Regions from separate parts of the Homo sapiens genome. Here all the other regions are linked to region 1. The links are contacts of gene promoters, found by promoter capture Hi-C in blood cells and fetal thymus (Javierre and others, 2016). All regions are on one chromosome and are shown on one strand. Each heading gives the region's core, a stretch centred on a gene start or on the middle of the fragment in contact. The rest is flanking DNA. Distances are from core to core; before and after follow the strand shown. Region 1 holds the start of BLACE (B cell acute lymphoblastic leukemia expressed). Region 2 overlaps DPP6 (dipeptidyl peptidase like 6). Region 3 has its middle 18 kb from the start of SHH. Region 4 overlaps PAXIP1-AS2 (PAXIP1 antisense RNA 2). Region 5 overlaps PAXIP1 (PAX interacting protein 1). Region 6 overlaps RBM33 (RNA binding motif protein 33). Region 7 overlaps PAXIP1 (PAX interacting protein 1).

Region 1 (3,622 bases), core at 719-3,218:
TCCTTTTTTTTTTTTTTTTTTTTTTTTTTAGTTTTGTATAAATTATGTTTCATATCTTTTTATTTCAGAAATAATCATTGCTGGAAATGCTGTTAAATTTTTTGGAACTCTTCTTTTTTTTTTTTTTTTTTTTTTTATTGATCATTCTTGGGTGTTTCTTGCAGAAGGGGATTTGGCAGGGTCATAGGACAATAGTGGAGGGAAGGTCAGCAGATAAACAAGTGAACAAAGGTCTCTGGTTTTCCTAGGCAGAGGACCCTGTGGCCTTCCGCAGTGTTTGTGTCCCTGGGTACTTAAGATTAGGGAGTGGTGATGACTCTTAACGAGCATGCTGCCTTCAAGCATCTGTTTAACAAAGCACATCTTGCACCGCCCTTAATCCATTTAACCCTGAGTGGACACAGCACATGTTTCAGAGAGCATGGGGTTGGGGGTAAGGTCATAGATCAACAGGATCCCAAGGCAGAAGAATTTTTCTTAGTACAGAACAAAATGAAAAGTCTCCCATGTCTACTTCTATCCACACAGACCCGGCAACCATCCGATTTCTCAATTTTTTCCCCACCCTTCCCGCCTTTCTATTCCACAAAGCCGCCATTGTCATCATGGCCCATCCCCAATGAGCCGCTGGGCACACCTCCCAGACGGGGTCGTGGCCGGGCAGAGGGGCTCCTCACTTCCCAGTAGGGGCGGCCGGGCAGAAGCGCCCCTCACCTCCCGGACGGGGCGGCTGGCCGGGCGGGGGGCTGACCCCCGCCACCTCCCTCCCGGACGGGGCGGCTGGCCGGGCAGAGGGGCTCCTCACTTCCCAGTAGGGGCGGCCGGGCAGAGGCGCCCCTCACCTCCCGGACGGGGCGGCTGGCCGGGCGGGGGGCTGACCCCCCCACCTCCCTCCCGGACGGGGCGGCTGGCCGGGCAGAGGGGCTCCTCACTTCCCAGTAGGGGCGGCCGGGCAGAGGCGCCCCTCACCTCCCGGACGGGGCGGCTGGCCGGGCGGGGGGCTGACCCCCCCACCTCCCTCCCGGACGGGGCGGCTGGCCGGGCAGAGGGGCTCCTCACTTCCCAGTAGGGGCGGCCGGGCAGAGGCGCCCCTCACCTCCCGGACGGGGCGGCTGGCCGGGCGGGGGGCTGATCCCCCCACCTCCCTCCCGGACGGGGCGGCTGGCCGGGCGGGGGGCTGACCCCCCACCTCCCTCCCGGACGGGGCGGCTGGCCGGGCAGAGGGGCTCCTCACTTCCCAGTAGGGGCGGCCGGGCAGAGGCGCCCCTCACCTCCCGGACGGGGTGGCTGGCCGGGCGGGGGGCTGATCCCCCCACCTCCCTCCCGGACGGGGCGGCTGGCCGGGCGGGGGGCTGACCCCCCACCTCCCTCCCGGACGAGGCGGCTGGCCGGGCAGAGGGGCTCCTCACTTCCCAGTAGGGGCAGCCGGGCAGAGGCGCCCCTCACCTCCCGGACGGGGCGGCTGGCCAGGCGGGGGGCTGATCCCCCCACCTCCCTCCCGGACGGGGCGGCTGGCCGGGCGGGGGGCTGACCCCCCACCTCCCTCCCGGACGGGGCGGCTGGCCGGGCAGAGGAGTCCTCACTTCCCAGTAGGGGCGGCCGGGTAGAGGCGCCCCTCACCTCCCGGACGGGGCGGCTGGCCAGGCGGGGGGCTGATCCCCCCACCTCCCTCCCGGACGGGGCGGCTGGCCGGGCAGGGGGCTGACCCCCCTCCCCCCTCCCGGACTGGGTGGCTGGCCGGGCGGGGGGCTGACCCCCCCACCTCCCTCCTGGACGGGGCGACTGGCCGGGCAGAGGGGCTCCTCACTTCCCAGTAGGGGCGGCCGGGCAGAGGAGCCCCTCACCTCCCGGACGGGGCGGCTGGCCGGGCGGGGGGCTGACCCCCCCCACCTCCCCCCCGGACGGGGTGGCTGCCGGGCGGAGACGCTCCTCACTTCCCAGACGGGGTGGCTGCTGGACGGAGGGGCTCCTCACTTCTCAGACGGGGTGGTTGCCAGGCAGAGGTGCTCCCCACCTCTCAGACGATGGGCGGCCAGGCAGAGACGCTCCTCACTTTCCAGACGGGGTGGCGGCCGGGCAGAGGCTGCAATCTCGGCTCTTTGGGAGGCCAAGGCAGGCGGCTGGGAGGTGTAGGTTGTAGTGAGCCGAGATCACGCCGCTGCACTCCAGCCTGGGCACCATTGAGCACTGAGTGAACGAGACTCCGTCTGCAATCCCAGCACCTCGGAAGGCCGAGGCTGGCGGATCACTCGCGGTTAGGAGCTGGAGACCAGCCCGGCCAACACAGCGAAACCCCGTCTCCACCAAAAAAAAACGAAAACCAGTCAGGCGTGGCGGCGCGTGCCTGCAATCACAGGCACTCGGCAGGCTGAGGCAGGAGAATCAGGCAGGGAGGTTGCAGTGAGCCGAGATCGCAGCAGTACAGTCCAGCTTCGGCTCGGCATCAGAGGGAGACCGTGGAAGGAGACCGTGGGGAGAGGTAGAGGTAGAGGTAGAGGTAGAGGTTAGAGGTTAGAGGTTAGAGGTTAGAGGTAGAGGTAGAGGTAGAGGTAGAGGTAGAGGTAGAGGTAGAGGTAGACGTAGAGGTATCCTTTAATCTTTCTAGGACAGGTACAGTGGCTCATGCCTGTAATCCCAGCACTTTGGGAGGCCGAGGTGGGAGGATCACTGGAGGCAGGCGGATCACTGGAGCCAAGGAGTTCAAGACCAACCAGGGCAACATAGTGAGACCTTGTCTCTACAAGAAGTTTAAAAAATTAGCCAAGCATGGCGGCGCATGCCTGTAGTCCCAGCTACTTGGGAGGATGAAGCTAGAGGATTGCTTGAGCCCAGAAGGCAGAGGCTGCAGTGAGCAGTGATCACACCACTGCACTCCAGCCTGGGCGACAGAGCAAGCTCCTATCTCAAAAAAAAAAAAAAAAACAGATAATCTTTCTAGGACTTGATTTCCCAGGCTCCATAATGGCAATCTGCGCAGGCAGCTTCTGGCTCTGAGTCTTCCTGTTTCTGTGGTGCCACTGCCAGCACAGGGAGGTCATTCTGTATCATGTCACTTGCTTGGTGTTTTACACCCATGGATGATGAAACAGCAACTGCAGCCTGGAGTGCTGGGAGGCAGAGAGAGTCTCGCTTCCCAGGCCATCTGGCTTACTGTGAAGGCCAGAAGCAGCACAGCCTCTCTTGGTCACCAGGGATCAGGACTCAGGTGGAGAGGGTGGGGCAGGGGCTGGCAGTGGAGACAGGTCCACACTGGGAACCAGCTGTGCCAGGCAGTGTGGCCCTGAAGCCCCTAAGGTGTGTCAAGAGGGGTCTTTCAGGAAATGGTTAGAGAGTGCAGGTGTTGTGTTTCTCTCTGACATGTAAACATATGTCTTTCTAGACAGGCAGGTCTCCCTATACCTGCCTTACGTGGGAAGCACGTCCGCAGGAGAGGTGCCACCCAGTGCCTCCAGCACTGATCAGGCCTTTCTCAGGTGTTGGGCAGGGAGAGGCAGAGCCCAAGAGAAGCCTCAGCAGAACACTAACAGTGGAAAGGAGGCAGTGAGGTGGAAGCAGCTTCTTTGGTACATGCAGAAAGTTCTAGAAAGGCCTTTTGGCTTAGAATCCTAGCTCTATTCACGTG
Region 2 (3,622 bases), core at 393-2,892, 480 kb before region 1:
GATAGCTCCGCTCTGTACTTCAGCCCGGTTTAAATCCCTTTAGGACAACCATCTCCCCGTACTCCCACCCCAGCCCTGCTCCCCTCCTCCGGGCAGTGAGAAGAACCAAGCCAGCACCCACCCTGCCCAGCAGTGTGGCTGGGGCTATCCCGCTGCGGAGAGTGGGACTGTTGTTCTGGGTTGGTGAGAGTGGTGCTGGTGGGCCCTGAGCCTTGCCCCACTGCTTCCCTCTGACCAACACCACATGTTACTACGCACTAGCAGGATGTCCTGGGGCCATCTGTAGCTAGGCAGTAGTGAAAGAGGGGTACCCTTCCCAGAACTGAACTCACTTTCCCACAACCAACCCGTGGCCCGTCCACAACAGCATCAAGTGCTGACCCAGCAGCCTCAAACCTGGGCTCTTCCCAGTAATGCACAGGGATGTCTCTGGAAACTTCTGCCATTTCCTTCCTGCCTTCTGCTCCTTTGGTGGAACAGGTATGACCCAATGGTCTCTTCAGGTCCAACATGAATGAATGGGAGAGCTCCTTGGGGACAGATGACAGGCAGGCACCCTGCCTCCCTCAGAGAGCTCTTGCCCTGGGCTGATCACTGCCTTGGCCTCCAGCATCCCTGCCTGTGGGAGGGAGGGACCACCTGTGGGCTTGATCAGGCAGGGAGAGCTCCAGCCAGAAGGGAGTTGGACCCCAGTGTGGATGAAGAGGGGCAGAAGGACGGGGTTACACCACACTTGAGTTCCCTTGTGAAAGACGTTCAGATTTCAGACTTTTTCAAAGTAAGTGTGGCAGTTGCATGGCAGTGTTAAGCACACTGACCATGGACGCTCCAAAGGTCCATGTGTATGTGTTCATGTGGGCAACTCCCCAAGATATGGGGCGAGCTGAACCCCCCAGGTACAGAGCAGCCTGCATCGCTGCAGGCTCCATGGGTATCAGGGAGCAGGACCCACCCAGGGACACACATGTGGGCACAGCAAAGGCCTTCACAGACACCCCATGCATCTGGAGCCAGGCCCAGCCCCAGGTAAGAGCACGGGAGACGGGGGCCTGAGGCAGGAGGAGAAAGCTTCCTGCCCATATCCTCTTGTACTACTTGATGTTTTAATGACATATCATAGCCTAATGACAGCATTAATAAATACTTCAAAATAAAGATGAATTTCACCCTCCAAAAACATACAAAGAAGGCAGGAAGAGGCAGTCTAGTGTCATAGAAAGATGTAGGTTTTGGGCCAGATGCAGTGGCTCACACCTGTAGTCCCTGCACTTTGGGAGGCTGAGGTGCGGGGATTGCCTTGAGCTCAGGAGTTTGAGACCAGCCTAGGCAACAGAGCAAGACCCCATCTCTACAAAAAGTTTTTAGAAAATAGCCGGACGTAGTCATGTGTACCTGTGGTCCCAGCTACACAGGAGGCTGAAGTGGGAGAATCACTTGAGCCCAGGAGGTTGAGGCTGCAGTGAGCTATGGTAACACCATGGCATTCCAGCCTGGGCGACAGAGTGAGACCCTGTCTGAAAAAGAAAAGAAAAAAATAAGATGCAGGCTTTGAATCCCTGCACGTGCACAGATGGTTCACGGTGCTCCTAGGAGATGGTGGCATCACCGCATTGGCAGTAGAATAATTAGCCATCATCCTATTGGCATCTGGGACCGAATGAGCCCACATTCCAGGCCTCATTCTAAGCACGGCACGGCTATAAGATTGTTTAATTCTCACAAAGTGTCATGAGCTGGAGTCTGTGATTATCCTCCCCACCCGACACACCTGGAATCCGAGGCTCAGGCAAGTTAACCTCCACAGTCACACAGGGAGTAGCCAGGACGCAAAATCTGTGGGGTGGGCCCGTGGGCACCCAGGACAGCACGCAGCCCTTCCACGGGAGTTTCCCACACTCAGAGTGTAACTGAGAGAGCATAGGAGTGTAATGGCGCGATCTCGGCTCACAGCAACCTCCGCCTCCTGGGTTCAAGTGATTCTCCTACCTCAGCCTCCCGAGTAGCTGGGATTACAGGCACGCCCCACCATGCCCAGCTAATTTTTGTATTTTTAGTAGAGACACGGTTTTACCGTGTTGGCCAGGCTGGTCTCGAACTCCTGACCTCAAGTGATCCTCCCGCCTCGGCCTGCCAAAGCACTGGGATTACAGGCATGAAATTCTATTTCTTTTCAGAGCCTGACACCCTGAAAACTTGGGCTGCGGCTCTGTAGTCCCTAAGCTTGTATCCATGTTGCAAATTCAAGCAAGCAGATCCGGACTGTAGAGTGTTGAATGAAGAGCTTCCCAATGTTTTCACCCAGTTCCCACTGAGCATTTGCTGTGCCTGGAGAGGGCCAGGCACCGGGGGCGTGGTGGTGTTTGAAGGCTGGTTGGCTTCACGAATGGGTGGTGCATGTCCACGCTAGGGGAGGCGCCCCTCTGACTGGGACAGCCAGGCAGATCTCCCAGGAGGAAGAGGCACTTCCATCAGGAGTGGCATGGTTAGCAAACCCACTTCATCAACTACAATCCAGCCCCGGACGGGGCCCAGGTTTCACTAAACTCCACACCTTCTGTGCGTTCCCGTCCCCTGGGGAGCGTATACCTGGGAGAGTAATTTCTCCGTGCCTTCCTTGCAGATTTACCCGGACGAAAGCCATTACTTTACCAGCTCCAGCCTCAAACAGCATCTGTACCGGTCCATCATCAACTTCTTCGTGGAATGCTTCAGGATCCAGGACAAACTGCTGACAGTCACAGCGAAAGAGGACGAGGAGGAGGACTAAGCTCAGGTCGCTCTAAGCACAAACGTGGCTCTTTCTACAACCAGATGCAACCGAGGGATTTCCCTGCCCTCCCTCTTCCCTCGGAGGGGCGGGGCGGGGCGGGGCCGGGTGTTCCATAGCATGTGTGTCTCGGATGCGGAAGGCAGTTTTGCTTGGGAAACAAGCTCCTTCCCCGGGGTCATCACTCACGGCCTCCATGGCACCAGGGACAACGCTGTCCCCGCAGCAGCGCCTCCTCCCGGCGCCCGAGAGACCGGCACGCCACGGCCCCTCCCCCAAGGAACAGAGCAAAGGATGGTGGCCGCAGGCCCCACGCGAGCCCACAGGACACCGGCCCCTAGATTCCAGCCACCAAGCGGAAGCATGAGACCCGCCCACACTAGCCTCTGTGTTCCCGTTAGGGACATCACACCCTGTCTCACGTCGCAGTGCCATGGACGCAGCAGTTACAGCACCATTGTTTTAGCAGTGCGTGTTCATATATGGGCTTGCTACTTCCTGTAATGAGGACGTTCAACATGGTGAGGGGCTACAAGAAAACGCTTTTCTGTACAGAGTCTTACTGTAGCTACGCTAATGGTTAACCTGATAGAATTAACTCGTATTTTTCTATGGTTTTAACCTGATGCTCCACTGTCTCCGTCATGGGGTTGTTTTGCTGTTTGGGGTTGGGCCTTGTTTCCCTTTCCTTTCTCCAGTCCACGTGTAGACTTTGCGCTTGATGAAGAAGCAGATCGGAAGTAACTGCTCCCTCCTCAAGGTTGTCTTCAGACGTCTTGGGGACGTTCCTAAACACTGAGGGGGAAGACAGCCAATAGCACCCATTAAAAGAAATACCTAAATAAAACCTCTCTC
Region 3 (3,622 bases), core at 735-3,234, 460 kb after region 1:
AGAGACTTTGTAACCAGAAGAAGGAGGTGACAATGTGGACAGGCTGCCACGCTTTGCTTCATTTATTCAACATTGTGGTTATTTTGACTTATCAAGACTGCATAACCACTGTGGAGAACAGTATAGGGTTTCTTGAAAATCCAAAATTTGATCTACCATATGATCCAGTGGTACTAATCTGTTCTCACATTGCTATAAAGAACTACCTGAGCCAGGCACAGTGGCTCACACCTGTAATCCCAGCACTTTGGGAGGCTGAGGCGGGTGGATCACAAGGTCAGGAGATCGAGACCATCCTGGCCAACATGGTGAAACCCCATCTCTACTAAAAAAATGCAAAAATTAGCTGGGCGTGGTGGTGTGTGCCTGTAATCCCAGCTACTCGGGAGGCTGAGGCAACAGAATCGCTTGAACCAGGGAATTGGAAGGTTGCAGTGAGCCGAGATTGCGCCACTGCACTCCAGCCTGGCCACAGAGCGAGACTCTGTCTCAAAAAAAAAAAAAAAAAAACCCAAAAAACAAACAAACCACTATCTGAGACTGGGGAATGTGTACAGAAAAGAGGTTTAATTGGCTCATGGTTCCACAGGCTGTACAGGAAGCCTAGCTGGAGAGGCCTCAGGAAACTTACAATCATGGCGGAAGGCAAAGGGGAAGGAGGCACTTCTTCCATGGCTGGAGAAGGAGGAAGAGAGCAAAGGGGGAGGTGCTATGCACGTTTAAACAACGAGACCCTGTGAGCACTCATTCACTATCATGAGAACAGAAAAGGGGAGCTCCACCCCCATGATCCAATCAGCTCCCACCAGGCCCCTCTTCCAACATTAGTAATTACAAGTAGACGTGAGATTGGGGCAGGGACACAAATCGAAATCATATCACCAGTCATTCCACTCCTGGGCATGTACCCAAAGGAAATGCCATCAATGCCCTCAAGAGCTGTCCACACCCATGTCCACTGCAACACTGTCCACAATAGCCAAGGTTTGGAATCACCCTAAGTGTCCACTGGTGGATGAATGGATAAAGAAAATGCAGTGTATGTGCACAATGGAGTACTATTCAGCCATAAAAAGCAGTGAAATCCTCTCATTTGCAGCAACGTGGATGGAACTGGTGAACATTATACTAAGTGAAATAAATAAGTCAGACACAGAAAGTCAAATATACATGATTTCACCTCTATGTGAAATCTAAGAAAACATGGAACTCATAGTATCAGAGAGTAGAATGGTGGTTACTGGGGGCTGGGGCCTGTAGAATGGTGGTTACTGGGGGCTGGGGGCTGGGGGAATGGGGCGCTGTTACTCAGAAGGTACAAAGTTTCAGTTATCATTGGAGGGTCAACGGGGAGCAGGGTGACTATAGTCGGTAATAAAGTATATCTGAAATTTGCAAAGACGGTAGATCTCAAGTGTTCTTAAGACAGGAAAATGGAAAGCGTGTGAGCTATTGGATGTGTTAGTCAGCTTGATTGTCATGGCCATTTCGCAGTGTGTACTTATACAAAAGACCATGTTGCACGCACTAAATACCTATGATTTTTATATTTCAGTCTTTCCTCCATAAAGCTGGAACACAGAGTGCCCACATGAAGCCTTCAGCACAGAGCCTTGCCTTGCACCCCAAGTCACTCCCGCACCTGGAGCACATGCCAGGCCAGGTGCCAGCAGGTGCACACCCCAGGGCTGCCCAAAGGCCGTCCCCTCCTTCCAGTGAGAAGGGGCCCACTCTCTCTTTCTCTCTGGTGGGCCTCCCCTTCTGACGCCAGTAACTGACTCGTCTCCTGGGCTAGTGCTGGAGGTGGCCTCCTTCCCAGAAGAGCTGAGAGATGCAAGGGAAGCCGGGTCCACGGGGTCCTACCCCGTCCAATGATGACCTAAGCTGTGCAGTCAGGCAGACAGATGCCTTAATGGGGCCCCAGCGCAGTCAGCAGCCGCACCTGGCACGTCCTCTGGGGATGTGGCACTTGGAAAGGAGTGACTCGTAGGAGGATGGGTAAAACACCACCCACTGTGCGTGCCAGGGGAGGAGTCCAAGGCCCTGGATCAGTGAGGCTCTCACCCAGTCCAGCCCTGCACGTCCTCCTTGGGAGGGGTGGGCAAGGGGGACGTGACCTCTGGCATCAATGTATCCACGTGCCTTACAGCAACAGCTCCATCACCACACCCTGCTGGCTGCCCTGTGCTGCCATTTCTGGGCCTCACTGATGCTAAGTTGGAGGATAGTCAGGGAGAGGCCACGTTTGCCAAGTGAAATTGGGAATTACATGAGCGGGACCAAAATCTGGAATTCTCTCTCTCTCTCTCTCTCTGTCTTTTTTTTTTTTTTTTTTTGAGATAGATAGGGTCTTAGTCTGTCATCCAGACTGGAGGGCAGGGTATGATCTTGACTCATGGCACCCCTGACCACCTGGGCTCCAGCCATCCTCCCACCTCAGCCTCCCAGGTAGCTGGAACTACAGGCACGTGCCTGGTTAATTAGGTGGCAGGCTAATTTTTGTGTTTTTTTAGAGGTGAGGTTTTGCCATGTTGCCCAGGCTGTAAATCTGGAATTCTCAGTCAAGGTGGAGGACCTGAGAGAGCTGGGGACATTTGGGAGGGAGGAGTGGGCTGAGCGTGCAGGGGGCAGACAGGGATGGGGTAAGAGGCGGACCCCGGCAGTGAAGTCAGGTTCCGAGGCGAAGGAGCCATCCCGAAATTACCCAGATGAGAAATCTTGTTTCCGAAGCGCCTCTGCGTTCCGGGCACCAAGGGAGAGTGAGTTCTGACCGGGTTGTCGGGGGGTCAGGGACTCTGCCCTCAGCCACTTTGGCTGCTGGTTCTGCCGAGCCACTGCCCGAACAGCACCCCGGATGCACCCGAGGAGGTGAGGCTCTGCGGACCGGGTGCCCTGTGAGTGACAGGGGAGAGGCCCCTGAGGTTTGCACAGTGCCTGTCACTTCTCAAAGCACCTCCTTCGTTCTGGCAATTTAGTGAGGGAGGCTGGGCAGCCGGGGCTGTCCATTTTATAGAGGAGGACACCAAGCCTCAGGGAGGGAGAGGGAAGCCGGTGGAGCCGGGCAGAAGCCTGTGGAGCTGGGTAGAGGCCGGCGGGTTTCCCAGCAGCGGTCTTCTGCATCTTCTGGCTGAGTCCTCCGCTGTCAGGAGACCCCGGCCTGGGCCAGGAGGTCCGATTCTGGGATGCGAACGTGGTGGGGCTGTTGCCATAGATACCGATGTGGTCACCAGCCTGAAACCCTTGAGCCACGGAGAGATCAGACGGTGGTCCCCACTCCTCAGCCTGGAGCCTGGCAGAGACGCTCAAGGAAGAGGGTGGGCTGACCGCGCACGCCTCTCCTTTCTTCATATCCTGCGCGGCTCGGGCGCTGTGCAGGAGGCCTGTGCTCAGCGAGGAGAGAGACAGAGAGTGCAGTGGGAGGAGCGCGGGGTCGGGGGGCTCTGCTTCCCACGGTGCGCCTGGGAGCCTCTTTGCCTCTTGGGGCCTCAGTTTTTCCAAATGTAAAACCAGGGCAGCCCTTCAAGCCCCTGGCCAGTGACACACAGAGACGAGTAGATAAGGACACCAGGGCAGACTGTTCCGAAAGCGGTGAGCCGGCCATTTCAGCGCTGGTTCTGCATGG
Region 4 (3,622 bases), core at 654-3,153, 430 kb before region 1:
GCCCCCCACCCCCCGCCAGCTGCTTTCACGGCAGGCTTTGAGTGTCTTTGGCTTTTCCAGGTGCATGGTGCAAGCTATCAGTGGATCTACCATTCTGGGGTCTGGAGGATGGTGACCCTCTTCTCACAGCTCCACTAGGCAATGCCTCAGTGGGGATGCTGTGTGGGGGCTCTGACCCCACATTTCCCTTCAGCACTGCCCTAGCAGAGGTTCTCCATGAGGGCTCCACCCCTGCAGCAGACTTCTGCCTGGACATCCAGGCGTTTCCATACATACTCTGAAATCTAGGTGAAGGTCCCCAAACCTCAATTCTTGTCTAATGCACACCTGAGGGACTAACACCATGTGGAAGCTGCCAAAGCTTGGGGCTTCACCCTCTGAAGCAATTGCCTGAGCATGTATCTTGGCCCCTTTTAGCCGCAGCTAGAGCTGAAGCAGCTGGGATGCATTGCAACTAGTCCTCAGGATGCGCACAGCAGGGGGGCCCTGGACCTGGCCCATGAAACCATTTTTGCCTCCTAGACCTCCAGGCCTGTGATAGGAGGGGCTGCTGCAAAGGTCTCTGACATCCCCCAGAGACATTTTCCCCATTGTCTTGGTGATTAACATTTGGCTCCTCGTTACTTATGCAAATTTCTGCAACTGGCTTAAATTTCTCCCCAGAAAATGAGTTTTTCTTTTCTACCGCATTGTCAAGCTGCAAATTTCCCAAACTTTATGCTCTGTCACCTCTTGAATGCTTTGCTTTAGAAGTCAAAATTCTAAAACAGAATTCTAAAGAAATTTCTAAAGTTCAGAAATTTCTTCCATCAGATACCCTAAATCATCCCTCTCTAGTTCAGATATCTAGGGCAGGGGCAAAATGCCACCAGTCTCTTTGGTAAACTATAGCAAGAGTCAACTTCATTCTAGTTCCCAACAAGTTCTTCACCTCCATCTGACACCACCTCAGCCTGGACTTCATTGTCCACCTCACTATCAGCATTTTGGTCAAAACCATTCAATAAGTCTCTAGGAAGTTTCAAACTTTCGCATATCTCCTTGTCGTCTGAACCCTCCAAGTATCTAGGAAGTTCCAAACTTTCCCACATTTTCCTGTCTTCTTCTGAGCCCTCCAAACTGTTTCAATCTCTGTCTATTACCAGTTCCAAAGTTGTTTCCACATTTTTTGAGTATCCTTATAGCAGCACCTTACTCTGTGGTACCAATTTACTGTATTAGCCTATTCTTACACTGCTATAATGAACTGCTGGAGACTGGGTAATTTATAAAGGAAAAGGTTTGACTTATACTTCCACAGGGCTGGGGAGGCCTCGAGAAACTTACAATCATGGCAGAAGTTGAAGCAAACACGTCCATCTTCACATGGTGCCCAAAAGGAGAAGTGTTGAGCAAAGGGGAAAAAGCCCCTTATAAAACCATCAGATCTCATGCGAACACACTCACTATCATGAGAATAGCATGGGGGTAACTGCTCCCATGATTTATTTACCTCCCACCAAGTCCCTGCCCCAACACGTGGGGATTACATTTCAGGTTACAATTCAAGATAAGATTCGGGTGGGGACACAAAGACAGACCATATCAGGTTTTGAACACAAGGTTTAAGAGAAGTTTAAAGAAAGTCCTGTGGAAGAGCTAAATATGAATTCCCAACAGAATCTCCCCTTGGCCAACCTCCTTGTCATCAGTTCACTGGCTAAACTAGTGCTCTGCATTTCCTTGTTTTTAAATTGTGATGAAATATACACAATACAGAACTTAACACGTTAACCATTTTTAAGTGTACAGGTTTGTTACTTTTAAGTGCATTCACATTGTTGTGCAGTCATCACCACCTCATCTCCATTACTTTTTTCATCTTAAAACTGAAACTCTATGCCCATTACATAACTCTCCACGCTTCTCCCAGCCCCTGGAAACCACCATTCTACTTTCTGTGTCTTTATATTTGACTACTCTAGGAACCTCATGCAAGTGGAATCATACATTATCTGCCTTTTGTGACTGATTTCTTTCACTTAGCATTATATTTTGAAGTGTAGGATAAATCATACACTATGTGTCTTTTGTAACTGATTTCTTTCACTTAGCAATATATTTCAAAGGTTCATCCATGTTGTAGTGTGTGTTAGAATTTTCTTCCTTTTTAAGGCTGAGTGATATTTTTAAGGCTGAATGATATGCCCTTGTATGAATAGAACACATTTGTTTATTCATTCATCTAATGATGAACACCTGGTTTGCTTCCACCTTTTGTCTATTGTGAATGCTGCTACTATAAACATGGGCTTACAAATATCTTGAGGAGCCCCTGCTTTCAATTGTTTTGGGTATATACCCAGAAGTGGGATTGCTAAATCATATGTTGATACTATTTTTAATTTTTTGAGGGCATGCTATACTGTTTTCCATTTTACATTCCCAACAGCAGTGCACACATGTCCAATTTCTCCAAATCCTCACCTACATGTGTTATTTCCTGCTTTTTTTTGACAGTAGTTATTCTAATGAGTGTGGAGTTGTTAGGGTCCAGCCTCAACGCCACCCACGGGTACCCAAAGTTTGGTGGCGGCAAAGGAATGAGAAGAGACAAGTTAAGAGTGAAAGGTGGGGAGCTGGGGGCCAGTGCAAAATGTGGAGGCTGCAAAAGGCTCAGAGCTCTGGTTTCCACACTATTTATTGAGTACAATCACTTAGATCTGAGAAGCAGGGGTTCAGGGGTGAAATGGGGAAAGGCAGACAGTGCGTTATACGTGTAATGTATAGCAGTGGCGGTTTAAGTGAATCTCCTTTGTGCTCAAATAGTATATCTTTAGTTACTTGTTGGGACCGGGCTTAACTAGGAGCCTGCATATCTAGCCACATTCTAATGCTTCATAGGAGTGTCTTTCTCCTTGAACACAGTGTTTATGGATAAGAGAGCAAGTCTTGCTCAGAGCATGGGAACATAGTGGCTATAAGAAGGCTTTCTTCTTCAGAGGCCTCTTGTGGCTTTCCGCAACTTATTGTCTCATATTTTTATGGCCAGTTTATGCAGGCACCCCATAAGCCTTTCTCCCAACATGGAGTGGTATTTTATTGTGACTTTAATTCACATTTCTCTAATGATTGGTGACACTGAGCTTTCTTTTTTTTCATGTGCTTATTGTCCATTTATATGCCTTCTTTGGAGAAATGTCTATTTCAAGTCTCTTACCCATTTTTTAATTAAGTTGATTCTTAGCTGTTGAGTCATAGGAGTTCCTTATATATTCCAGATATTAATCCTTTATCAGATATATGATTTGCAAACATTCTTTCCCATCTGATGGGTTGCCTTTTCACTCTGTTGTCTTTTAATATATAAACATTTTACATTTTGGTGTAGCCCAATTTATATTTTCTTTTGTTGTCTATGCATTTGGTGTTGTATCCAAGAAGTCACTGCCAAATCCAATATCATGAAGCTTTTCTATGTTGTCTTCTAAGAGTTTTATAGTTTTAGTTCTTAGCTTTAGGACTTTGATTCATTTTGAGTTCATTTTTGCACATGGTGAAAGGTAATGTTCCAGCAACATCCTTTTGCATGTGGGTATCCAGTTTTTTCCAGTAGCATTTGTTAGAATGACTGTCCTTTCTC
Region 5 (3,622 bases), core at 386-2,885, 410 kb before region 1:
ACTGCTAAAAATCCTTGTACGAAGTAGATGAAATTTCACCTTAATATACTGTTGAACCTGGACAGGCTCGAATCCAGTGAAAAGCACAAAAGGGGTCAATTCTGGAGTTAGCTTTTTAGTGGGAGGTGGTACGTCTTCAATTCTGTGGAAGAAATACACATAAAATAGTAGTGATTTCATATTTACTTACAATGAAAATTTTCTTTAGAAAACAAGGGATTTCATTAGTTTAACAAGCTTTAACTGCATGTGGTTTTTATTCTTAAAGGAAAAATACAATGAGCTATCTGTCCTTCCTTTCTTTCCACCATTTCCATAAAGTCACCTTCCAAAAAAGACTACCTTTGAAGCCTCCAAGGGAGGCATCCAATTCACTTTTGGTTAAGATCAATACTTTCTTCTTCATCAATCCCCTCCTGATTAATTTTTTTAATTGGCTTTCAGAAGAAAGCAAATATCAAAGTTGCTTCTAAACATCACTGATTTTGCTAGCTCTATCACTTCATTTTTTTCTATCAAGTTTTTAAGATAACCTTGTGTGACTCAGGCCATTCCTTGTTTGCACGTTCACCATCAATACAAGTCAGCCAAGACGAGTGTCGCTAGAGCTTCCAGTGTCTTTCACATTCTAGCCCTCTTCAACCACAAATTATAAAAACGTGGCTCTGCTCAAGCACACGTTTTAAATTAAACCTTTTTGTTTTTTACATGAATTTTTTAGGTCTTTTTTTCAGGTTATTATTTTCTGAGACAGTCCAATAAAAATTTATTTTAAAATGTATTTGTGGTAATTTGATGACAGCCTCAAAAAAATCACATAATTAGGATTTTATTACAAAAGTCAACAGTTCAGTTTGTGTTCTGGAAGTGGGGAATGGAAGGAGGGAAAGAGGAGGAGCAGGGAGAGAAAAGATGAGGAACCTGGTAACTGCAAAAAACAATTCAAGCAGTTATATTTCACCATGTACAGTCTGGAAAGAAGAGTTTTCTAGAATCAAGGAAGAAAATAAAAGCTCTGTTAGTTTGCTCCTGCATTTGCTATGCCTTTCTAATTAAATGATTGGAAGGACTTCATTATTGACTCCTGCTGGCCGACATGACACTAAAATGATATGCATCTCAATCTGCATACTCCAAGCCAAAACCCAACATGCCATATGCATTGCACATGTCCTTCCAAAGGCTTTGGGTCTGGATCCTCCTTCCCACCGTGGCCAACATTGCTTTGTCCTCATCAAGAACTGGCAGATCCAAGGAGCATACCCAAGATGACGCCACAGCCTACATGCTCTCTCGGCACCTACATGCTCTCTCGGCACCTACATGCTCTCTCGGCAGCCTACATGCTCTCTCGGCAGCCTACACGCTCTCTTGGCATGTACAGCAGGTTCTTCAGCCGTGCCCAGGAGGCCTGGGGCTCCGTGGTCTATCTCTGAGCTGGGTTCTAGACCTCCCACCCCACTTCCACCACTGCAACTTCTGTTTTACATGTTGGAAAGGGGCTTCTTATAATATGCCACTTAAAGAAAAAGACTGAATTTTTTTAAAATAAAAAATATACTGGCCTATGTCATTAAAATGAAATATATCCCAATAAAGTTGTAAAGCAAAAAGCAAACTCTTTCAAATCTTATTTACTGCAAAACATTTTAGAAACTTTCCTCAATTGCCACCGATTTTCCAAAGCAGACCTGTGAAAGCCAGCAATGAAAAATTTAAGGTTATTACTCATACCTGGCTCTTTTGGAAGAAGGCTGGACATTAGCTACTTCATTCTGTTTCAGTTTGGGAGGTAGTCTTATACTCTGCAATTAAAATATTGTCGACTTTAATTCAATCAATCTACTAAGTAATACAGTAGCTTCCAGAAGATTTATGTGTCAAATAATCAAACTACTTAAACATATACAAGAATCATGTTCTTCTTCACCACATCAGAACTAGTCTTCACCTCAAAAGATCACTAGGACAATGCAAGTGGGGAGAAGCAGCTAATATTCCGGAGAGAACCTCTGTATCGTTTTTTTGTTCTTTTCTTTCCCTCTTTATTCACAAAATCCTTTCAGTACTTTAAATTATCTTTGTTGCTTTTTTTCCTCCATGTTATATATATGCAGCCCTCAACCTTGAACTTCTCAAAATGGTTTTTATTTCAAATATTTTGTCCTGTGTCCCAATTTAGAATGTGGAAAACATGGCCGGGCGCGGTGGCTCACGCCTGTAATCCCAGCACTTTGGGAGGCCGAGGCGGGTGGATCATGAGGTCAGGAGATCGAGACCATCCTGGCTAACAAGGTGAAACCCCGTCTCTACTAAAAATACAAAAAATTAGCCGGGCGCGGTGGCAGGCGCCTGTAGTCCCAGCTACTCGGGAGGCTGAGGCAGGAGAATGGCGTGAACCCGGGAAGCGGAGCTTGCAGTGAGCCGAGATTGCGCCACTGCAGTCCGCAGTCTGGCCTGGGCGACAGAGCGAGACTCCGTCTCAAAAAAAAAAAAAAAAAAAAGAATGTGGAAAACATGATTGAAATTACACCTCCACCCTAAAAGACTATTCCTAAAAGAGAAATTTCACCTATGAGATTTCACAAAAGATGTTACATGACAATCAGATCAACACTGCTACCAACAGCCAGACAAGGTACCAAAACCTACACTCTGCCTCAGCAACATGGTCACATCCACTAGGACCAGCTCCAGTCCCTGACCCTGGAGCAGAAGCCATGCCAAGCACAAAGAGAGCAGGAAGGAGATGGGATTCCCTTGTGGGGTCCCTACCACAGTCAGCATCTCCATTCTACCCTATTCCTTGTTGACTCCTCCTTCATAGTTTCAACTCAGAGGTTCTTTGACTTGTGTGGGCCAACCATGTCTTTCCCAGGTGTTTTATTACTTGAAGGAATTGCTCTCAATCTTATTAATTTACTTCAACTACAACTTATTTTTTCTAAATATTGCTGCCATATCTAGACAACCAAAATAAATATATCTACAGAAAGCATTCAAAATCTATTAGCCCTGTCATACATAGAGAATCAAGCTTTATAATAATTTGCAGGAAAGTTTATTACTTTCCTATTATAGCCTTTATAAGAAAGCAATTTCTCAACTCTATTTCCAAAGATCGCATTTAAGTCTCCAAATTGTCATTCATTGGTACCAAGAATAGAAACAAATGGTGGGATAGGCAAAAAGGATAAACTGGGCCTCTTTGTCTCTAAGATTTTTAGCTTTTAATTACTGATACAAAGCCACAAGAGAAGCTGACATTTGGGGCCCCTGACAACTTTAGAATATAGGCCATGTAGTTTGGGAGGAAAACTCTGATGACCACTTTCCCAGTGTGAGCTTAAAAGCCACCATAAAATTCCTTTCAGCTAAAAGAACTGTGAGAATATTTGCTTTTGCTGATGTGTCAAAACTGGTCATGTCTTTAAAATTAAAATCATAACTACTAGTTTAAGCTAGGAAAACAATACATCTATGATCACATTATCACTAGCAAGAAGAAAACAAGACTGTGGCTTGGAGGGGCTTCCTCAGAGACGTGGGATGATTATCAGCAGCTTCCAGATGAGATCTGGAAAACGAGTAAGTCAGTAGATGAATAACCAGAAACACAAGC
Region 6 (3,622 bases), core at 628-3,127, 410 kb after region 1:
AAAAGTGCCTTACAGTATTTCTGCTCATGAAAGAGTTTCACTATTTTGGATATATTCTAAAGTGGACCTGAGCTATTTGAGCAAATAATGATAGGGCATACTCAGACATTTTAGCTACCTTTTATACCTACGATTTCATGTCACATTTACTAATAGAATTAAGGGAAATAGAAGCCCGTTCTTTCTTACTGCCCCTGGAGGGAGCATGGCGCTAGGGCTCTCAGCCTCCTAGAAGGAAGGGACTAAGGAGACGGGCACAGACTTGCGTCATCTCGTTTCCACAGTTGACGTTTTATATTACTTTCTCAAATTAAGTTACCAAAACAAACTGAAGAGCTGAAGCAGGTCTTCCAGACCCTGCGATCCTTTCTGTAGCAGTGATTCTAAAGTGGCGTTTGCTGTGTGCTTGAGAGTAACACTGCACGCTGCAGGGGCTGTTGCAGCAGTCAGTCCCAGGAAGCCACAGCGCTTGTAGGATCTGCTAGGACCCTGCAGCTGTGCTGCCGCCACCTCTGCTCCAGAGTGTCCCAGCCAACCCTCGGAAGATGGGATTGCCAGTCAGCCCTGCCTCACCATGCCTGCAGGAGGCTGTCCAGGGAGCAGGTCTGTGTGCCCATCAGCAGGTTCCCATGGCTGTCACTGCCCACTCATTTCCACAGTTAGATACGGATGTGTTGATGTATTTCGTCTAGTTTATTTGGCTCAGTCCACAGCTGCGTTGGAGTGGTGACTTTGGTAGCCCTTGAGCTCTAATTAAGAGAGATCCAAACCACTCAGTACCCACTGGGCAGTGGGAAGGCCTACCGACTTACTTTATCATTGAGGGCTTACTGATACAATGAAATGAGTTTCATGACTTTTTTTTTTTTTAAACACTTTTTGAAATAGAGTGTGCTGTGTTTAAAACCAAAAATATGCATGTTGTCTCTGAAAAGTAGGCATTGAAACAGACTTTTTTGTAGTCAGTGTTAATAAAACGGATCCTGTTTGGGCCTTCATTGTTAAGGTGGACTTCATGGCCACTGGAAGGTCTGTTTTGGTGTTACCTGAGTGTGACACAGGCCCTGGGGTGTGCGTGTTTCTCTAACTGTCTACACGTGCACATAGGCAGACTTTCTCATAGAATGTTCTTGAAAGGTGATTGGCAAAGTCATGCAGGCCCGCCTTAAAGCGCTGATTAGAACAGTCCAACACAGTCCGACCTCACTCAATACCCACAACCATCGAAAATGGATTCTTAGTACCAGACAATCCCAGTAATGAAGGTTTAGTTTCCTTGAAGGAAACTACAGAAAAGGAAAGAAGCAGAATGAGAAAGGAATGGTACTTAGGTGTTTGGTATGCTGCTCACGTGAAGTCAGCCCACACCAGCCAAACCCTCGTGGAAGATCTGCTGCAACCATTATCTTTGTTCTTGAGTTCATCATGCATTTAAAATGAGATGCAAGAGCATTTAGCATACCATGTAAATATGGACCTTTTAAAATTAAAATACTATTGGAAGTGCTTTCAACTCAGCCACATCTTAGCTATTAGTTCTTTGTGTTGTCTTATCAAAGTTTAATGGATACAGTTCCACAGTTGTTGATGTGTTTGTGTGTATATTCGATTTTTATAAAGATGGTAGTAAGTCAATACATTTATCCTGATCTGTGTATTATTTGTTCACAAATTCAAGAAGCTTAAAGGTCGTAAATATCAGTATCTCATAAGGTAAACCAATAGCTGATTATGTGGAGCCAAGTTACTTCTTTTCTTTTTGCATTATCTTGTTTTGGTTTTGTGCTGTAATAGAAGTTCACTTAGCTACTTTAGATAACCTTGCATTACCACTGGTCTGGCCACGTTTGTTAAATCCTTATACTGATATTCTTCTAAAGAGTAAATCTCATCATTTTTCCAGACAAATTTTGAGGGGTTTCTCTGTTTTGTGGACAGGCAGCAGCCTCCGTAGGCACCCGCACCCTGCCTTGCTGGAGGAGATGGGATGGGGCGGGAGGTGGCTTCACCATAACTATTTTTAATATGGGTCATTCTTAGCATGATTTGTAAAGGTCTCAGGCAAACAGTTGTTGAAGCTTGCTTCTGTGGCATTTCTGAATTGTGGCAGAGCTTAGATCCTGCACCCAGGGGTCTTTTTTTCAAACAGCATCTTGCTCAGTTCTGTGAACAGAAGGCTTTGTTACTGAAGGAGGTGGAAGAGGAGTTTAGGGTGAAAAGGAGGAAGGGATGGACAGACCCAGGTGAGGAGAGGCCTGGGGATTGGGGAAGCTGTCATCTCAGTGTTAATAATCAACTTGCTTCTAACACACTGGCTTATCAGGGGAGGTCATCCAGTCCGGTCGGTGGAGTTGAGAGCCCTTGGGCCAGGGTGTTTGGCGGCACAGGGGCATCCGCTGGATGGCCTGGAGGAGTGGGGGAGGGGAACGTCTTCACTGGGTGGTGATCAGCTGGGACAGTTCAGGTAGGGCAGGTGAGGGACCCCCGAGGCCCTGGAGCCTTGTCCTGGGATGGGTTTGAAGAACTCATCACTCATCACTTGTTTTCTTTTGGCTTTTGTTGTTTTTGTTTTGTTCTGTTTGTTTTGTTTTGTATTTCTTTGTTATTTTATTGGGAAGGTAAGCGGAATGTGCTCATAGACCATCAGACGCTTGTCGAAGGCAGGTCCTAGTCATGTAATTGCACAGGACAAGGAGGTCAGCGTGTGTGATGGCAGCATGCTGTGCCGGCACATCGTGGAGTCCTAGAAACTCTCTAGTCCCTGCGGCTGTTCCCCTCCTCTGCTCTCTCCCTGGAGAGGACTGCCAGCTCTTAAGAAACATTCCTGGTGCGGTGTCTGCAGTGCCCTTTGTGGGTGACTTCAGGCTTCCCGCTTTCGTGGTGCTCTTCCTGGGATTCGTTTTTTTATTACCCTCCCTCCCTACTTGTAGGCCTCAGCTATGGCTTGACGTAATCGCTTTTAGACCCAGGTTGGCTTCCCTTCATTAAGCTATGATCCTCCACCCCATTTTTTTTTTTTTTAATTTGGAGTGGGAGGGAGGGGGGTGGGCGAGAGAAAGCTCGAAAGGTATTATTGGTTTTTCAAAAAATTAGAGGTGACGATTCTACCAGGGAGTTGACTGATAGGAGTGTGTGCAGGGCAGGAAAGGTTCGGAGGCACCCGACTACCACCACTCGGAAAGCCGCTAGTCCAGATCGACTAGGGAGAGGCTTAGATACTTTAGTGTATTTAAAGAGCATTTCAGTTAACTTTTTCAGCTATTTTTAAAGTTTGTGAATGGAGTGTTATTTTGGACATTCTTAAATATGAATTCTCCAAAGGCATTTAGCCTTGACTTAATATTAAATCCTAAGGATTTTATGTAAGGTTTTTTTGCAACCTATTTAATTTTTTTTAAATGCCTAACTTCTGAGGTGCATAAGCCCGTGGTTTGTGTACTGGAACTAAAGCGGAACTCACTGATTCATATTGGATCCCCAGGTATACCTTCTGCTGGTAGCATATGGCTGGAAAAGGCCGTTTGCCTCACACATTGTAACCTGCCTTGGCTAGAAAATGCTTTTAATGTCTCAACTCTCTCTTTTCTGTGTCATGTTTTGGTAGGAAATCTTTAAGATTGGC
Region 7 (3,622 bases), core at 1-2,500, 390 kb before region 1:
CCTCAGTGTCCGTACAGCTGGACTCCAGGTAGCTATCATTTCTGATCTTTCAGAACTTTGGAGGTTTTGTCCAGCAGCCATTAAATTACCCCGGACCTCAGGGGGCAAAATGTTACCTGGGACGGGTGGGACATTGGCACACAAGTTAATCAACCCAGGCTCCTTTCCCTGAGGCAGCCTGCGTTTTGCTGCAGCTAACTGTGGGACTTCGGCCGGGGTCCAGTTTAAATTTCTCTCCTGTTTTTCCGGTGATGAATCTGAAGAATCATCAAACATTAATTCCCCTTTAGATTTTTCAGTGTTGGATTTAGGTGAAAACTGCTGGTCACCTGAAGGAGACCCTTCTTGAGAGCTGGCAGGGCTTGACTTCTCATCTGTACTACCCTCATTCTGAGAATCTTGTTCCTCATTTTCTACTTCCTCCTCCTCTTCCTCTTCCTCTTCTTCCTCTTCATAAATAATCAGACGAGGATGATAAAATGCTTCGTCCTTTTTGGTTTTCTCTGATACGCAATCCAGAACCCAGTCAGGAGTCACAATTTTAATACTTGCTCGCTTTAAAGCACATTCGTATTTCTCCTACGAGGAAAGCAGAAACACACACAAAACAAAGCTGTAAATTTTATCACATTTCCTACAATTACGCATTTTAGAAAAAACTCAGTCAAGGAATGCAGTTGAAATGTTGAGCAACTATTATTACAATTTTATACAGAAGCAACGTTTGATCTTTTAGACAGAGGACATGAGGCAAAAGTGAAAAGGAACCATACAGCAGTGATCATAGGAAGGTCTCACACCTGTAGCAGGAGTCTTAAAAGACTTGGCTGAAAATTAACTTTTTAAAATGATATTTTAAGTACAAAAGTAGAGCTAGTAATCCTATGGAAAATTATGAAATGAATAATTGCTACCTAAGTTTTTACTGATTGATAATATTTAGAAGCTTGGTTTTCCATGACAGTTAGTAAAGTAACAGCGTGGCAGAGTGCCGCCAATGCATCACGTACACTCATGGAGCATGGCTGACTTGGCTGACTTGCATAGGACAGCTCTATTCAAGATCCAGTATTTATGGAGCTCATGCTATATGCCAAGCAGCACTAAGGGATGGAGACACAAAGGATGCAACAAGTCTCTGACCTAACAAGGCTCACAATTTGGTTCTAAAGAGATATTAAATACGGAATGCAAATACAATATAAAACCACTGCTGAATGATGCAGTAACAGACTGGAAGGGAATCTCATCAACATAAGCTGGAGGGCAGGAGGAAAGCCCCGTTGAAAGGTGAGCTTTGGCTGGGGCACAAATGATGACAATTTGCACAGTTAGAATGAAAGCAGAAAATACAGCCCACTGGAAAAGATGTGTCCGGAGTAGTATGTTCGGCAAGCTAACAGAGACCTCTCCTGTGGTAAAGGGTGTAGAATGTGGAAGGCACAGGGGAGGGAATAACAAAGAAAGAGGAAATAAATAAAAAATGTTAAATAAGAGTAATATGACAATAAAGTAACCTTAAAATAAATGAGTTGTAAATTTGGCTGTGCTCCTAAAAGCTTAACACATAACAGCAATTCTCTAGCAAACACATAATCAGGGCCCTAAACTAAACTCCGTGTCCTGTTGCAGAGCCCCAAGGTGGCATTTGCAATTTCTGGGTGGAATAAGAGTCACACGCAATAGGGATGCGGGGCAGCAGCACAGAGAGGACAGCTGTTGGTCATTCGGTCCTGGCAGCGAACGCCAGGCATTGCCCATCTGGGAGATCCTTGCAAATAGTGAGCTCTGCACACAGCTCAGTGACTTAACTTGTGTTTGTGAGTTTGTTCTTTCTCAAACCTTTTTAAAATATAAGAAAAACCTAGTCATGGGAGACACCCATGAATAAGAAGCTAAGCAAAGGAAAATGAATGTAATCATAATCACACTGACTAGAAAGGACCACGATTAACATTTTTAGGGTATAGTTTAAATTTATTTTTGTTATAAATATATATGTACATATATTAAAAGGGCAAAGGGAAAAAACATATAGTCATAGTGAACAAATACTTTATAATGTTCCTTTTTCACTTAATATATTGTGAACAACCTCTTCCTATGAAAACATGTATACTTTTATGCTTTTGTTTTTAACTTTTTAATGTACATTTTCGAACACAGACCAAACTTTTTAATGTACATTTTCGAACGCAGACCAAACTTTTTAATGTACATTTTCGAACGCAGACCAAATTAGAGACTAGTGGAATAAATCCCTTGTATCTGTCACCCAGCTTTAATAACTGGCAATCTTTTACAAATCTTGCTTCTCCTGAACTTTGTTTACGGATCTCAAATTGATAAAGACTTTCTAAACCACCATAATTATCATAGCAGCACAATGAACTATGATTCACCTCATCCTCAGGCCCTATTCAGATCTCCCCAGTAGTCTCAAAGGCTTTTACAGTTTCCTCTTCGGTTGCACAGCTGTGTACCTTAGTTCATCCCCCAGTGTTAGCCACGTGGTTGTTTCCAGTGTTTCACTACTATGAAAAACTGCAGTTATATTTTATGACAAATTCCTAGGTTTTGGTGTTGAGGTTTGAAAAGGAATAGATTTAAGGCTTCATATCTCTAACTACACTTCCCTTCCCAAAAAGGCTATTCCAATTACACTTCCAACAGCTATGTAAGAGTACATCAATTTACCTATACCCTCGACAATAAAATGTCTTATTCTTTACCCTAAAAAATCATGCTGTTCTTAAATATTTAAAAGCATAAAATGTTATATAGCTCTCCCCAGATGATAAATTTCTACTAGAGATTTTCAATTTCTGGACTACCCATTCCAGAAAAACCCAAGTTATTTTAGGAAAATATGAAGTCCAGGTACACAGCAGAATATTTATGAACCAATTAATACAAAAATATCATCTGCTTGAATAACATATGACTATATGTAATATGGTTTACATATGATTTTTCCAAGTTAAAAAGATATCTGTTGAAATAGTAAAATATGAAAAAAAGTTATTTTTAATTGTTTTAACAAATACCAAAAAACAAAACAAAACTACTGCCATGAAGAGGAGTCACTGAAAATTTTGGATATGAAAAAGATAATTTCACACTTAAAAGGCTGGGATCCAGTAGGCTCTTGAGTTCCTAGTTTGTATAGAATGCTGGCATTTCACATTTCAGAAATAACTTGACTATTTCCTGTGGAAATCTAAGTAAAACACTTAGGTAAACAGCCTTACTATATTTCACTCAAGTTTTCTCTCGCTTTTCACAAGATAGGTAGTTTTTAATCACTGAAAGACAGTAACTGTTTAAACAAAGATGATTTAAGAGGAAAGCAATGTTTAGATGCCTTTGCCTGACCCAATTTATCAGCTAAATTATTCTAAATTTTGTATCCTCAAAACTTCTAACTCACTAAGGGCTAAGGACCTCAAGGGTCAACCATGTCCCCTCTCCCCAACAACTAATAACCATACCCCGTTTCTGTTGGTTTTAAGTTATAAATTCTTTCATTCTTCTTAATTTGAAACTTTTAAACTTCAAGAGTATAAAAGGTAGTTTTATTAGGCCATTTGCACAAGCTTTTGCTATGTGCTCATTAAAGAAA

The links. The method cuts DNA at HindIII sites, captures the fragments that hold promoters and counts their contacts. A CHiCAGO score of 5 or more calls a contact.
Region 2: a fragment that was not itself captured here is called in contact with the fragment with the promoter of BLACE in region 1 in 5 of 17 cell types (naive CD8 T cells, neutrophils, total CD4 T cells and 2 more); the score reaches 7.0 in naive CD8 T cells.
Region 3: a contact is called between a fragment that was not itself captured here and the fragment with the promoter of BLACE in region 1, in 1 of 17 cell types (neutrophils). The highest score is 5.1, in neutrophils.
Region 4: a fragment that was not itself captured here is called in contact with the fragment with the promoter of BLACE in region 1 in 12 of 17 cell types (monocytes, megakaryocytes, total B cells and 9 more); the score reaches 8.9 in monocytes.
Region 5: a fragment that was not itself captured here is called in contact with the fragment with the promoter of BLACE in region 1 in 14 of 17 cell types (neutrophils, megakaryocytes, total B cells and 11 more); the score reaches 13.9 in neutrophils.
Region 6: a contact is called between a fragment that was not itself captured here and the fragment with the promoter of BLACE in region 1, in 1 of 17 cell types (fetal thymus). The highest score is 6.6, in fetal thymus.
Region 7: a contact is called between a fragment that was not itself captured here and the fragment with the promoter of BLACE in region 1, in 3 of 17 cell types (monocytes, megakaryocytes and M0 macrophages). The highest score is 6.0, in monocytes.

What each region holds. Positions count from the first base shown.
Region 1 is chr7:155,365,965-155,369,586 of GRCh38, forward strand. It overlaps BLACE (B cell acute lymphoblastic leukemia expressed), which reads right to left and starts at 1,969. Exons shown (of 6, transcript NR_103545.1): 1 at 1,845-1,969. The region is part of intron 2 of LOC105375593 (a long non-coding RNA gene); the gene reads left to right. The HindIII fragment of the contact is 7,901 bases long and covers 1-3,622 here.
Region 2 is chr7:154,889,714-154,893,335 of GRCh38, forward strand. DPP6 (dipeptidyl peptidase like 6) reads left to right here. Exons shown (of 26, transcript NM_130797.4): 26 at 2,621-3,622. The coding sequence ends at 2,767. Among named protein-coding and RNA genes, the nearest start is that of PAXIP1-AS2, 37 kb to the right of the region's middle. The HindIII fragment of the contact is 1,152 bases long and covers 1,067-2,218 here.
Region 3 is chr7:155,828,315-155,831,936 of GRCh38, forward strand. No RefSeq gene overlaps it. Among named protein-coding and RNA genes, the nearest start is that of SHH, 18 kb to the left of the region's middle. The HindIII fragment of the contact is 4,824 bases long and covers 1-3,622 here.
Region 4 is chr7:154,934,252-154,937,873 of GRCh38, forward strand. All of the region lies in intron 2 of PAXIP1-AS2 (PAXIP1 antisense RNA 2), which reads left to right. Among named protein-coding and RNA genes, the nearest start is that of PAXIP1-AS2, 7.5 kb to the left of the region's middle. The HindIII fragment of the contact is 3,088 bases long and covers 360-3,447 here.
Region 5 is chr7:154,955,490-154,959,111 of GRCh38, forward strand. It overlaps PAXIP1 (PAX interacting protein 1), which reads right to left. Exons shown (of 21, transcript NM_007349.4): 14 at 1,735-1,805; 15 at 40-142. Among named protein-coding and RNA genes, the nearest start is that of PAXIP1-AS2, 29 kb to the left of the region's middle. The HindIII fragment of the contact is 2,800 bases long and covers 236-3,035 here.
Region 6 is chr7:155,776,192-155,779,813 of GRCh38, forward strand. RBM33 (RNA binding motif protein 33) reads left to right here. Exons shown (of 18, transcript NM_053043.3): 18 at 1-3,622. Among named protein-coding and RNA genes, the nearest start is that of SHH, 34 kb to the right of the region's middle. The HindIII fragment of the contact is 397 bases long and covers 1,680-2,076 here.
Region 7 is chr7:154,975,753-154,979,374 of GRCh38, forward strand. It overlaps PAXIP1 (PAX interacting protein 1), which reads right to left. Exons shown (of 21, transcript NM_007349.4): 6 at 1-579. Among named protein-coding and RNA genes, the nearest start is that of PAXIP1, 26 kb to the right of the region's middle. The HindIII fragment of the contact is 613 bases long and covers 945-1,557 here.